Linked DNA regions of Homo sapiens: regions 1 and 2 are each linked to region 3. Evidence: promoter capture Hi-C in 16 types of primary human blood cells and fetal thymus (Javierre and others, 2016). All regions are on one chromosome and are shown on one strand. The core of a region is centred on a gene start or on the middle of the fragment in contact, and the rest is flanking DNA. Distances in the headings are between cores, read along the strand shown. Region 1 overlaps ZNRF2 (zinc and ring finger 2). Region 2 overlaps GARS1 (glycyl-tRNA synthetase 1). Region 3 holds the start of NOD1 (nucleotide binding oligomerization domain containing 1).

The links. Contacts are between HindIII fragments. The CHiCAGO score rates a contact against its expected background, and 5 or more counts as called.
Region 1: a fragment that was not itself captured here is called in contact with the fragment with the promoter of NOD1 in region 3 in 1 of 17 cell types (total B cells); the score reaches 5.2 in total B cells.
Region 2: a fragment that was not itself captured here is called in contact with the fragment with the promoter of NOD1 in region 3 in 3 of 17 cell types (activated CD4 T cells, total CD4 T cells and naive CD4 T cells); the score reaches 6.1 in activated CD4 T cells.

Annotation. Positions count from the first base shown.
Region 1 is chr7:30,342,171-30,344,870 of GRCh38, reverse strand. All of the region lies in intron 2 of ZNRF2 (zinc and ring finger 2), which reads right to left. Among named protein-coding and RNA genes, the nearest start is that of LINC01176, 47 kb to the left of the region's middle. The HindIII fragment of the contact is 5,981 bases long and covers 1-2,700 here.
Region 2 is chr7:30,617,894-30,620,631 of GRCh38, reverse strand. All of the region lies in intron 10 of GARS1 (glycyl-tRNA synthetase 1), which reads right to left. Among named protein-coding and RNA genes, the nearest start is that of GARS1, 24 kb to the right of the region's middle. The HindIII fragment of the contact is 900 bases long and covers 881-1,780 here.
Region 3 is chr7:30,477,295-30,480,040 of GRCh38, reverse strand. NOD1 (nucleotide binding oligomerization domain containing 1) reads left to right here and starts at 1,257. Exons shown (of 14, transcript NM_006092.4): 1 at 1,257-1,435. RefSeq lists a silencer at 1,129-1,368 and an enhancer at 1,017-1,761. The HindIII fragment of the contact is 7,069 bases long and covers 812-2,746 here.

The sequences.
Region 1 (2,700 bases), core at 24-2,523, 140 kb after region 3:
ACCCAAAGATTTCATACCCAGTTAAACTGTTATTCAAAAAACAAAAAGACACATAGATAAGCAGTCTGTGTTAAACATGCAAGAAATCTAGGTAATTATTTCCCATGAGCCCATGTGAAAGGATTTCTATGAGGATGAACTTCAGCTAGCCAAGAGACATCTGAAAAAACTAAAGCAAAAGGATTAGCAGTGGCAGCTGAATCTACGTAATGGTAAGATTAAAACAAAAGTGGGAACATTGATTAGATAATGTATAAAGTATCTACCTAGCAAAAATTAAAAGAGGTGAGGATGGATGGGGGGAAGATGATATAAATAACTAGGTGTCAAAAAGTATTATTTAAAGCTAACAAAGCAAAGAGAAGTACAAAAAAAACTTAATAGTATAAAAGCAAACATTAGGTAATGTAACAACTAAAATTAGAACACGGGAAGGAAGGAGAAAAATAGGAAATACACTAATTTCATTATTGCTCATAGAAAAAAACAGTATCTAAAAATAAGAGGTATTCTATAAAATTATAAAAGTAATCACTAAACACAGAAATACAGTTATAAGAAATACAATTAGAAACACCACAGTTATTTCTAATCAAAAGAAACAACACAGTTATTTCTAATTAAAAAAAAAAAAAGAAACAAGAGCTGGGGCCGGGCGCAGTGGCTCACGCCTGTAATCCCAGCACTCTGGGAGGCCAAGGCAGGCAGATCACCTGAGGTCAGGAGTTCGAGACCAGCCTCGCCAACATGCTGAAACCCCGTCTCTACTAAAAATACAAAAATTAGCTGGGTGTATGATGGCAGGCGCCTGTAATCCCAGCTATTCGGGAGGCTGAGGCAGGGGAATCGCTTGAACCTGGGAGGCAGAGGTTGCAGTGAGCCGAGATCGCGCCACTGCACTCCAGCCTGAGTGACAGAGCAAGACTCGGTCTATTAAAAAAAAAAAAAAAAAAAAAAAAGCTGGCCACCCAGTGAAACATTTTTAAAAAGTCATGAAACCAGAAAGTATAATGACAGAATTAGCACTGACCATATTAAGAAATATAAATGGGCTAAACCAACAAAAACAAACAAACAAAAAACAAAGATTAGATTGGATTGCAAACAAAATCTAACCCTGTACTGTGTATACAAAAAGCATATAAGAAACAAAAAATATTCAGGAAATGAAAATGAAAAAAAAAACTTATCAGGCAAATACAAACTAAAAGAAAGAATGAATTACAATCTTACTATTGACAAGGTTGAACATAAGGCATAAACATTAAAGGAGACAGAGGAGCTTTTATAATATTAAAAAATGCAATTTGCACCCAAGTTATAATAGTTATGTTTATACCCATATAACAGCAGCAACATTTGTAAAGGAAAAAAAATATGCAATATAGAGAAAAACAGAAACATGAGTAGTAGCACACCTTAATTCACCTTAGTCCATGACGATCAAGTGAATTTAAAAAAAGATGAATATTAAAGACCTTTTTTTGAAACAGGGTCTCTGTCATCTAGGATGAAGTGCAGTAGCATTAAATTTTATCTATGTCTTTTTGTTTTTTCAGAGACAGTCTTGCTCTGTCATCCAGGCTGAGGTGTAGTGGTGCGATTATAGCTCACTGCAGCCTCCAATTCCTGGGCTCAAGTGATCCTCCCACCTCAGCCTCCCCAGTAGCTGCGACTATTGGCATGCACCACCACGCTTGGTTGACTTTCCTATTTTTTAAATAGAGATACGGTCTCACTATGTTGCCCAGGCTGGTCGGGTCTTGAACTCCTGGGGTCTCAAGTGATCCTCCTGCTTTGTCCTCCCAAAGGACCTTTTAAATTACACATGAATAGGAAACATTCGCCAAAAGTGACCTTACATTAAACCACAAAGAAAACAGTAATAAATTTTGAAAATATAAAACTAGTACAGACAACATCCTCTGATCACAATGCGGCAAAACTAGGAAACAAATAGCAAAACCAGGGGGAAAAAAGTCCTCTACACTTGGATAAAGATACTCTCAAATAACTTTTGAGTTAAAAAAGACACCCCCAAAATACAAAGTACCTCATCTAAAAAAAACCACTACTTATCGGAACCTTTGAAACAGAGCTAAAACATCTTCAGAGAAAAATTCATAGGCTTGTATACTTCTGCTGAAAAACAAGAAAGAAAAATTAATACCCCCAACACAATAAACTCAGAAAACGCATACCTAAGGAAAGCACAATAAATAATATAAACAAAAGTCTAAATTAATGAATTAGAAAACAGAAAAATGATAGACTAACAATGGATCTCTCTGCAGAAACCCTACAAGCCAGAAGACAGTGGGGGCCAATATTCAACATTCTTAAAGAATTTCAACCCAGAATTTCGTATCCAGTCAAGCTACGCTTCACAAATGAAGGAGAAATAATATCCTTTACAGACAAGCAAATGCTGAGAGATTCTGTCATCACCACGCCTGTCTTACAAGAGCTCCTGAAGGAAGCACTAAATATGGAAAGGAAAAACCAGTACCAGCCACTACAAAAACATAACAAACTGTAATCACCATCAACACTATGAAGAAATTGCATCAACTAACAGGGAAAATAACCAGCTAGCATCATAACGACAGGATCAAACTCACGCATAACAATATTAATTTTAAATGTAAATGGGCTAAATGCCCCAATTAAAAGACACAGACTGGCAAATTGGATAAAGAG
Region 2 (2,738 bases), core at 81-2,580, 140 kb before region 3:
ACACATAAGATACTTTTAAAAAGCAAAATTTAAATTATTTTCAAAGAACCTGCAATGAATTGAATGCTTGTGTCCTTGACAAAATTCGTATATTGAAATCCTAACTCCCAATGTGATGGTATTAGGAGGAGGTGCCTTTGGGAGGTGATTAGGTCATGAGGATGGAGCCCTAATCACTGGAATTTGGGACCCCAGAGAGCTCTCTTGCCCTCTTTCACCATGTGAGGATACAACAAGAAGTTGGCAGTATGCGACTGAGAATGGGGCCCTCACAAGGATCAGACGATGCTGGCACCCTGATCTCTCAATTCCAGCCTCCAGAACGGTGAGAAATCAATGTCCATTGTTTATAAGCCACTCTGTATGTGGTGCTTTCTTATAGAAACCCCAACTATGACAAACTCTTAAGAACCCGTTATTTCAATAAGAACAAGAGTTTGTAAAGAGCTTATTTTGGTAGATACCTAGTTAGTCCTTCTCAAGAAGATTCATTTTTTTTTTTTGCCCTTGATCCAAAGAGTTTGGGGAAATTCAACCATCAAAACTACTAAGCTTGGCCAGACACAGTGGTTCGTGTCTCTAATCCCAGCACTTTGGGAGGCTAAGGCGGGTGGATCACCTGAGGTCAGAAGTTCAAGACCAGCCTGGCTAACACGGAGAAATCCTGTCTTCATGAAAATACAAAAATTAGCTGGGTGCAGTGCCATGTATCTGTAATCCCAGCTATTTGGGAGGCCGAGGCAGGAGAATCGCTTGAACCCAGGAGGCAGAGGCTGCAGTGAGCTGAGAGTGCACCACTGCACTCCAGCCTGGGTGACAGAGTAAGACTCTGTCTCAAAAAAAAAAAAAAAAAAAGAAAAAAAGAAAAAACTACTAAGCTTTCCAAGCACATGTTATCACATGGGGTGTCTGTAATAAAGCAAGCAAATATAAAACTCATATGAGCTCAGAAACTCCAACACAAAACAACAACAAAAGGAATTAAAGAACAAAGCCTAAAAACATGTAACCTGGCAATCTGACATTCCCTATACATGTCGACTGGTTAAGTATACTTATGTTCTTAACCATATAGTTTGGTGGTTATAATTTACTGCAGATGTCAACTAACATTTATGTACTGAAAGGTAAAATTACAAAAACGTGCCTGAGAATAACAACATTGGGATAGTGGTTACTTCTCTGGATGGAAAGAGAATTGGTGTGGCATTAACTGCAACGGTAAATTTTTTTATTAAAAAAATATATAAAGTACACAAAAAGTATTAAACTCTCTAAGGGAGTTCTCCCCTCTCCTTAAGAGCCTCTGGGACTCTGGAGCTTCTTGTTTCATTTAGCCCTGTTTTCCAGTGACTTTCCATTTTCTGATCCCTAACCCTCACAATGGCACTTAGATAAGGACGAGCAGGCATCCAGTGGGGTTTATAAAGCAGTACAGCATAACTGTTAAGAGCATGAGTCTGGTGTCAGACAGCCAGGTTTATATCCCAGCCTCACCACTCACTGGCTGTGAGACTTAAGCAAATTACTTAACTGAGACAGCAAGAACAACATCTGGTTTAATCTGAAATCAGAATCAGAGCAAACTAAGAGAAGGAGCTGGGTATGAAACAAAAAGAAAAGTAATAATCTTTTCTCATACAAAAGGAAAAACATTTTATTGGTTTGATCTGAAAATAAAAAGAAGTCCCAGAAAATCTAAAAAGTGTAAAGAAATTAATGATCACCCATAATCCTAAAAATAATTACTATTATCATTTTGACATATGTCAAGCAAGCTTGCTAAGAAAATCCTAACAGATTACAGTAATTCTTTCTAATTCCACAAGGGAAAAAGAATATATTAAAAACAACATCATTAATAGCCATTTATAAACATATGCATATTATTATGCATTTATGCATGCATGTGTTAGAACACGTAGAAAAATCATCTAGAGAAGGCAGACATACCCAAGACCATGGAGCTAAGCATGATCTTTTTTCGTCTGTTTGTTTGAGACAGGGCCTCACTCTGTCACCCAGGCTTGAGTTCAGTGGTGCAATCATGGCTCACTACAGCCTCAACCTCCCGGGCTCATGTGATCTTCCCACCTCAGCCTCCCAAGTAGCTGAAACTACAGGGGCGTGCTATCACACCTGGCTAATTTTTGTATTTTTTGTAGAGACAGGGTCTTGCTATGTTGCCCAGGCTGGTCTCAAATTTCTGAGCTCAAGCAATCTTCCCACCTCGGCCTCCCAAAGTGCTAGGATTACAAGCATGAGCCACCACACCCAGCCAGTTTGGACATTTTTTAAAAGCTGTTTTTTACAAGCTGTAAAAAACAACAAAGTTATGTGACAGAGACTCATAAAGCTAAAAATATTTACCATCTGGTCCTTTATAGAAAATGTTTGCTCAATACAGAGAAGAGACATAAAACACCTGGGGAGAGGCATATAACTGGAAGTTTAATTTTCTACATAATAGTCTTCAGAATTATTTTTTCCTTTTTGTTTTAAAAAAAGTAGTCATTACTTTTTAAAATATGACTAATTTTGATTTTTAATTTTTAAAAATCCATAAAAAGAAAGCCATTCTGAAAAGTAAAAACTGAACCAAGGGTATACTGGAACCAGTGACCCCTGGACTAAAGTCTCTTTCTATGTAGGCGAGGAAGCCTCTCTAACACCCAATAAGAGAAATGCCAAAAGACTCTCAGCCTTGTTTTAGATGCCACATTTCCTCCTGCCACCAA
Region 3 (2,746 bases), core at 8-2,507:
CATAGGTGGATCTCCTCACAGAGTGAGGGTGAGGACAGGGGACTGGTCTCCTGAAGGAGTCCTCCTGTCCCGGGTCTTCGGCACCAAATGTCACACGTGTCCGTGTGAAGAGACCACCAAAAGGCTTTGCGTGAGCAATAAAGCTGTTTATTTCACCTGGGTGCAGGTGGGCCGAGTACGAAAAAAAGAGTCAGCAAAGGGAGTTAGGGGTGTGGTAGCTTTATAGGATTTGTGTGGGTAGTGGAAAATTACAGTCAAAGGGGGTTGTTCTCTGGTGGGCAAGGCGGGGGCCGGGGGGGTGGAAGGTCTACAAAGTGCTCAGTGGGGGAGCTTCTGAGCCAGGAGAAGGAATTTCACAAGGTAATGTCATCAGTTAAGGCAGGAACCAGCCATTTTCACTACCTTTGTGATTCCTCAGTTGCTTCAGGCCATCTGGATGTATACATGCAGGCTTGGGCTCAGAGGCCTGACACAAGTTGGCACATTTGATCCTATCAACTTTAGTTTGCACTTTCACTTTTGATTTAAGAACATACTTTCTGTTTCTCAGAGGGCAGCCTCTGATGGGAATTTTAATACTCACAAGCATCAGTGGCTATATGATTGAATGTACTTCTTCAGTGTGAGTAAGTGACAACTTTCTGTAGCATGATATCCCTTATGGACACGATCCCCATTCAAAACGTTTTAAAACTATTTTATTGGGGACATTTATTAGCATGTTAAAACTCTTTTACAACCTATTAGAGCATATGCATAGAACATAAAATGTACACTGCCAAGAACAAATTTAAGGATAGGAAGAAAAGCTTACATTTTTTAAAAAGTATAAATTGAAATGTATGCAGTGTAATTTAAATTTGATTACGTTAACCTCCATTTCATCAGGACCACGTGTCGCGTTTTAACAAGAGTTTCCCTATCATGTCCAGGCTTTGGCTCTGGTTGCAGGCGCTGGGTAGGCACTTTTACGAGGAGGGACCTGGCACGATGGCACCACAAATTCCCAAGTGTGTCACCTCTGGGCGAACTTGGGCCTGTCCACTCGGCCCTGCGCGGTGGCCAGGGGCTCACCCTCTCGCACCGGGCGTCCCTCTGCGCGCAGCTTCTCTCGCCCCCCCGCGCCAGACCCGGGCGAATGGCAGCACCGTGGGACCCTGCCTTGACCGCCCCCGCCCTTCGGCGGCCTCTCCCAGCAGCCGGCAGGCTCTTGGGCGCGCCAACAGAGGGGCGCGGCTGCGGCTGTAGTCGCAGCCAGTTCCCGTTCCGGGCCCGCGAGGCAGCCGCCCCGGTCCTGCCCCTCCCTCGCGCTACTGCGGGAGCAGCGTCCTCCCGGGCCACGGCGCTTCCCGGCCCCGGCGTCCCCGGACCATGGCGCTCTCCGGGCTCTTCTCTAGCTCTCAGCGGCTGCGAAGTCTGTAAACCTGGTGGCCAAGTAAGTCCCAGCGACTGGGGATTCGCGCGGGGCAGGCCCTTTCTGAGGTCCTGGGCGCTGCGAGTGAGGAGGCGCAGGGAGGCGGGATTTGCGTGCGGGCGGAACGCAGCGCGGCTCTGGAGGAGCTCTGGGTGGAACCAAGCGGAGAAACCCGCGAGTTTGAAGCATGTAGCGAAAGTTGAGAGGGATGAACTTCACAGTCAGCGGAATCGTTTATCCCACTGTGGTCGAACGCAGGGGTTCTCAATCGTGCCAGCAGCTTAGAACCACCTGGGGAGCTTTTAAAATCCAGATATCCAGGCTGCACCCTAGATCAATTCCATCAGAATCTCACGGAGTCAGACCCAGGCCTCCGTATCTTTTAAAAGCTCCCCAAGTGATTCCAGTGTGCAGCCAGCGTTCGAGGGTTTGTGGCAAAGGCTGGAAGGGCAGACAGGGGCCTTCATGGAGTCCCGCCTGCAGACGGGACAGCAGCTCCCAGTGTCCTGCTTGGTCCTGGAGAGAGGGTGAGAACTTCCCTTGGGTTTCATGCTCCACAAAGTAAGGAAATGAGACAATGCTTGGCAAGGTCGCCTGAATATCACATTCAAAAACGCCTCCAATGTGTGCAGTTGTTTTGGCACATTGTGAAAAACATAGGAAATGACAGAGGTTGATGTCTCATTAGCTCTGCATTCTAGGAAACATTTCGGTTGTTGGTGTTTGAAATTAAGTCTGGGGAAGCTAAGCTAGTAAACCCATGGCCTTGATGACTTCTGGCCTTTCTGCTTTAAGGGTGAAGCCAGGGCCGGGCGCGGTGGCTCACGCCTGTAATCCCAGCACTTTGGGAGGCCAAGGCAGGCGGATCACCTGAGGTCGAGAGTTCGAGACCAGCCTGGCCCAACATGGTGAAACCGTCTCTACTAAAAAAAAAAAAAAAAAAAATTAACCGGGCGTGGTGGCGCATGCCTGTAATCCCAGCTACTCGGGAGGCTGAAGCAGGAGAATTGCTTGAACCCGGGAGGCAGAGGTTGCAGTGAGCCGAGATCGCCCTGTTGCGCTCCAGCCTGGGCAACAAGAGCAAAACTCCGTCAAAAACAAACAAACAAACAAAAAACAAAAAAACGGTGAAGCCAGAAGTCGTGCTTGCCAAAGGGTCGAGTTTGTTCTCCCTCAAAGCCCCTGTTGAAGATTGAACTATCACTTTCAGGGAAGAGTAAAAGAGTAACTCCACGATGCATCTTAGAGAGGAGTGGATTCCCTGTTCTCACCCAGGCTTAGATGCCAGGGGCCAGGTAGCTGAAATCCAGGCAAACCAGGCATTGACAAAGT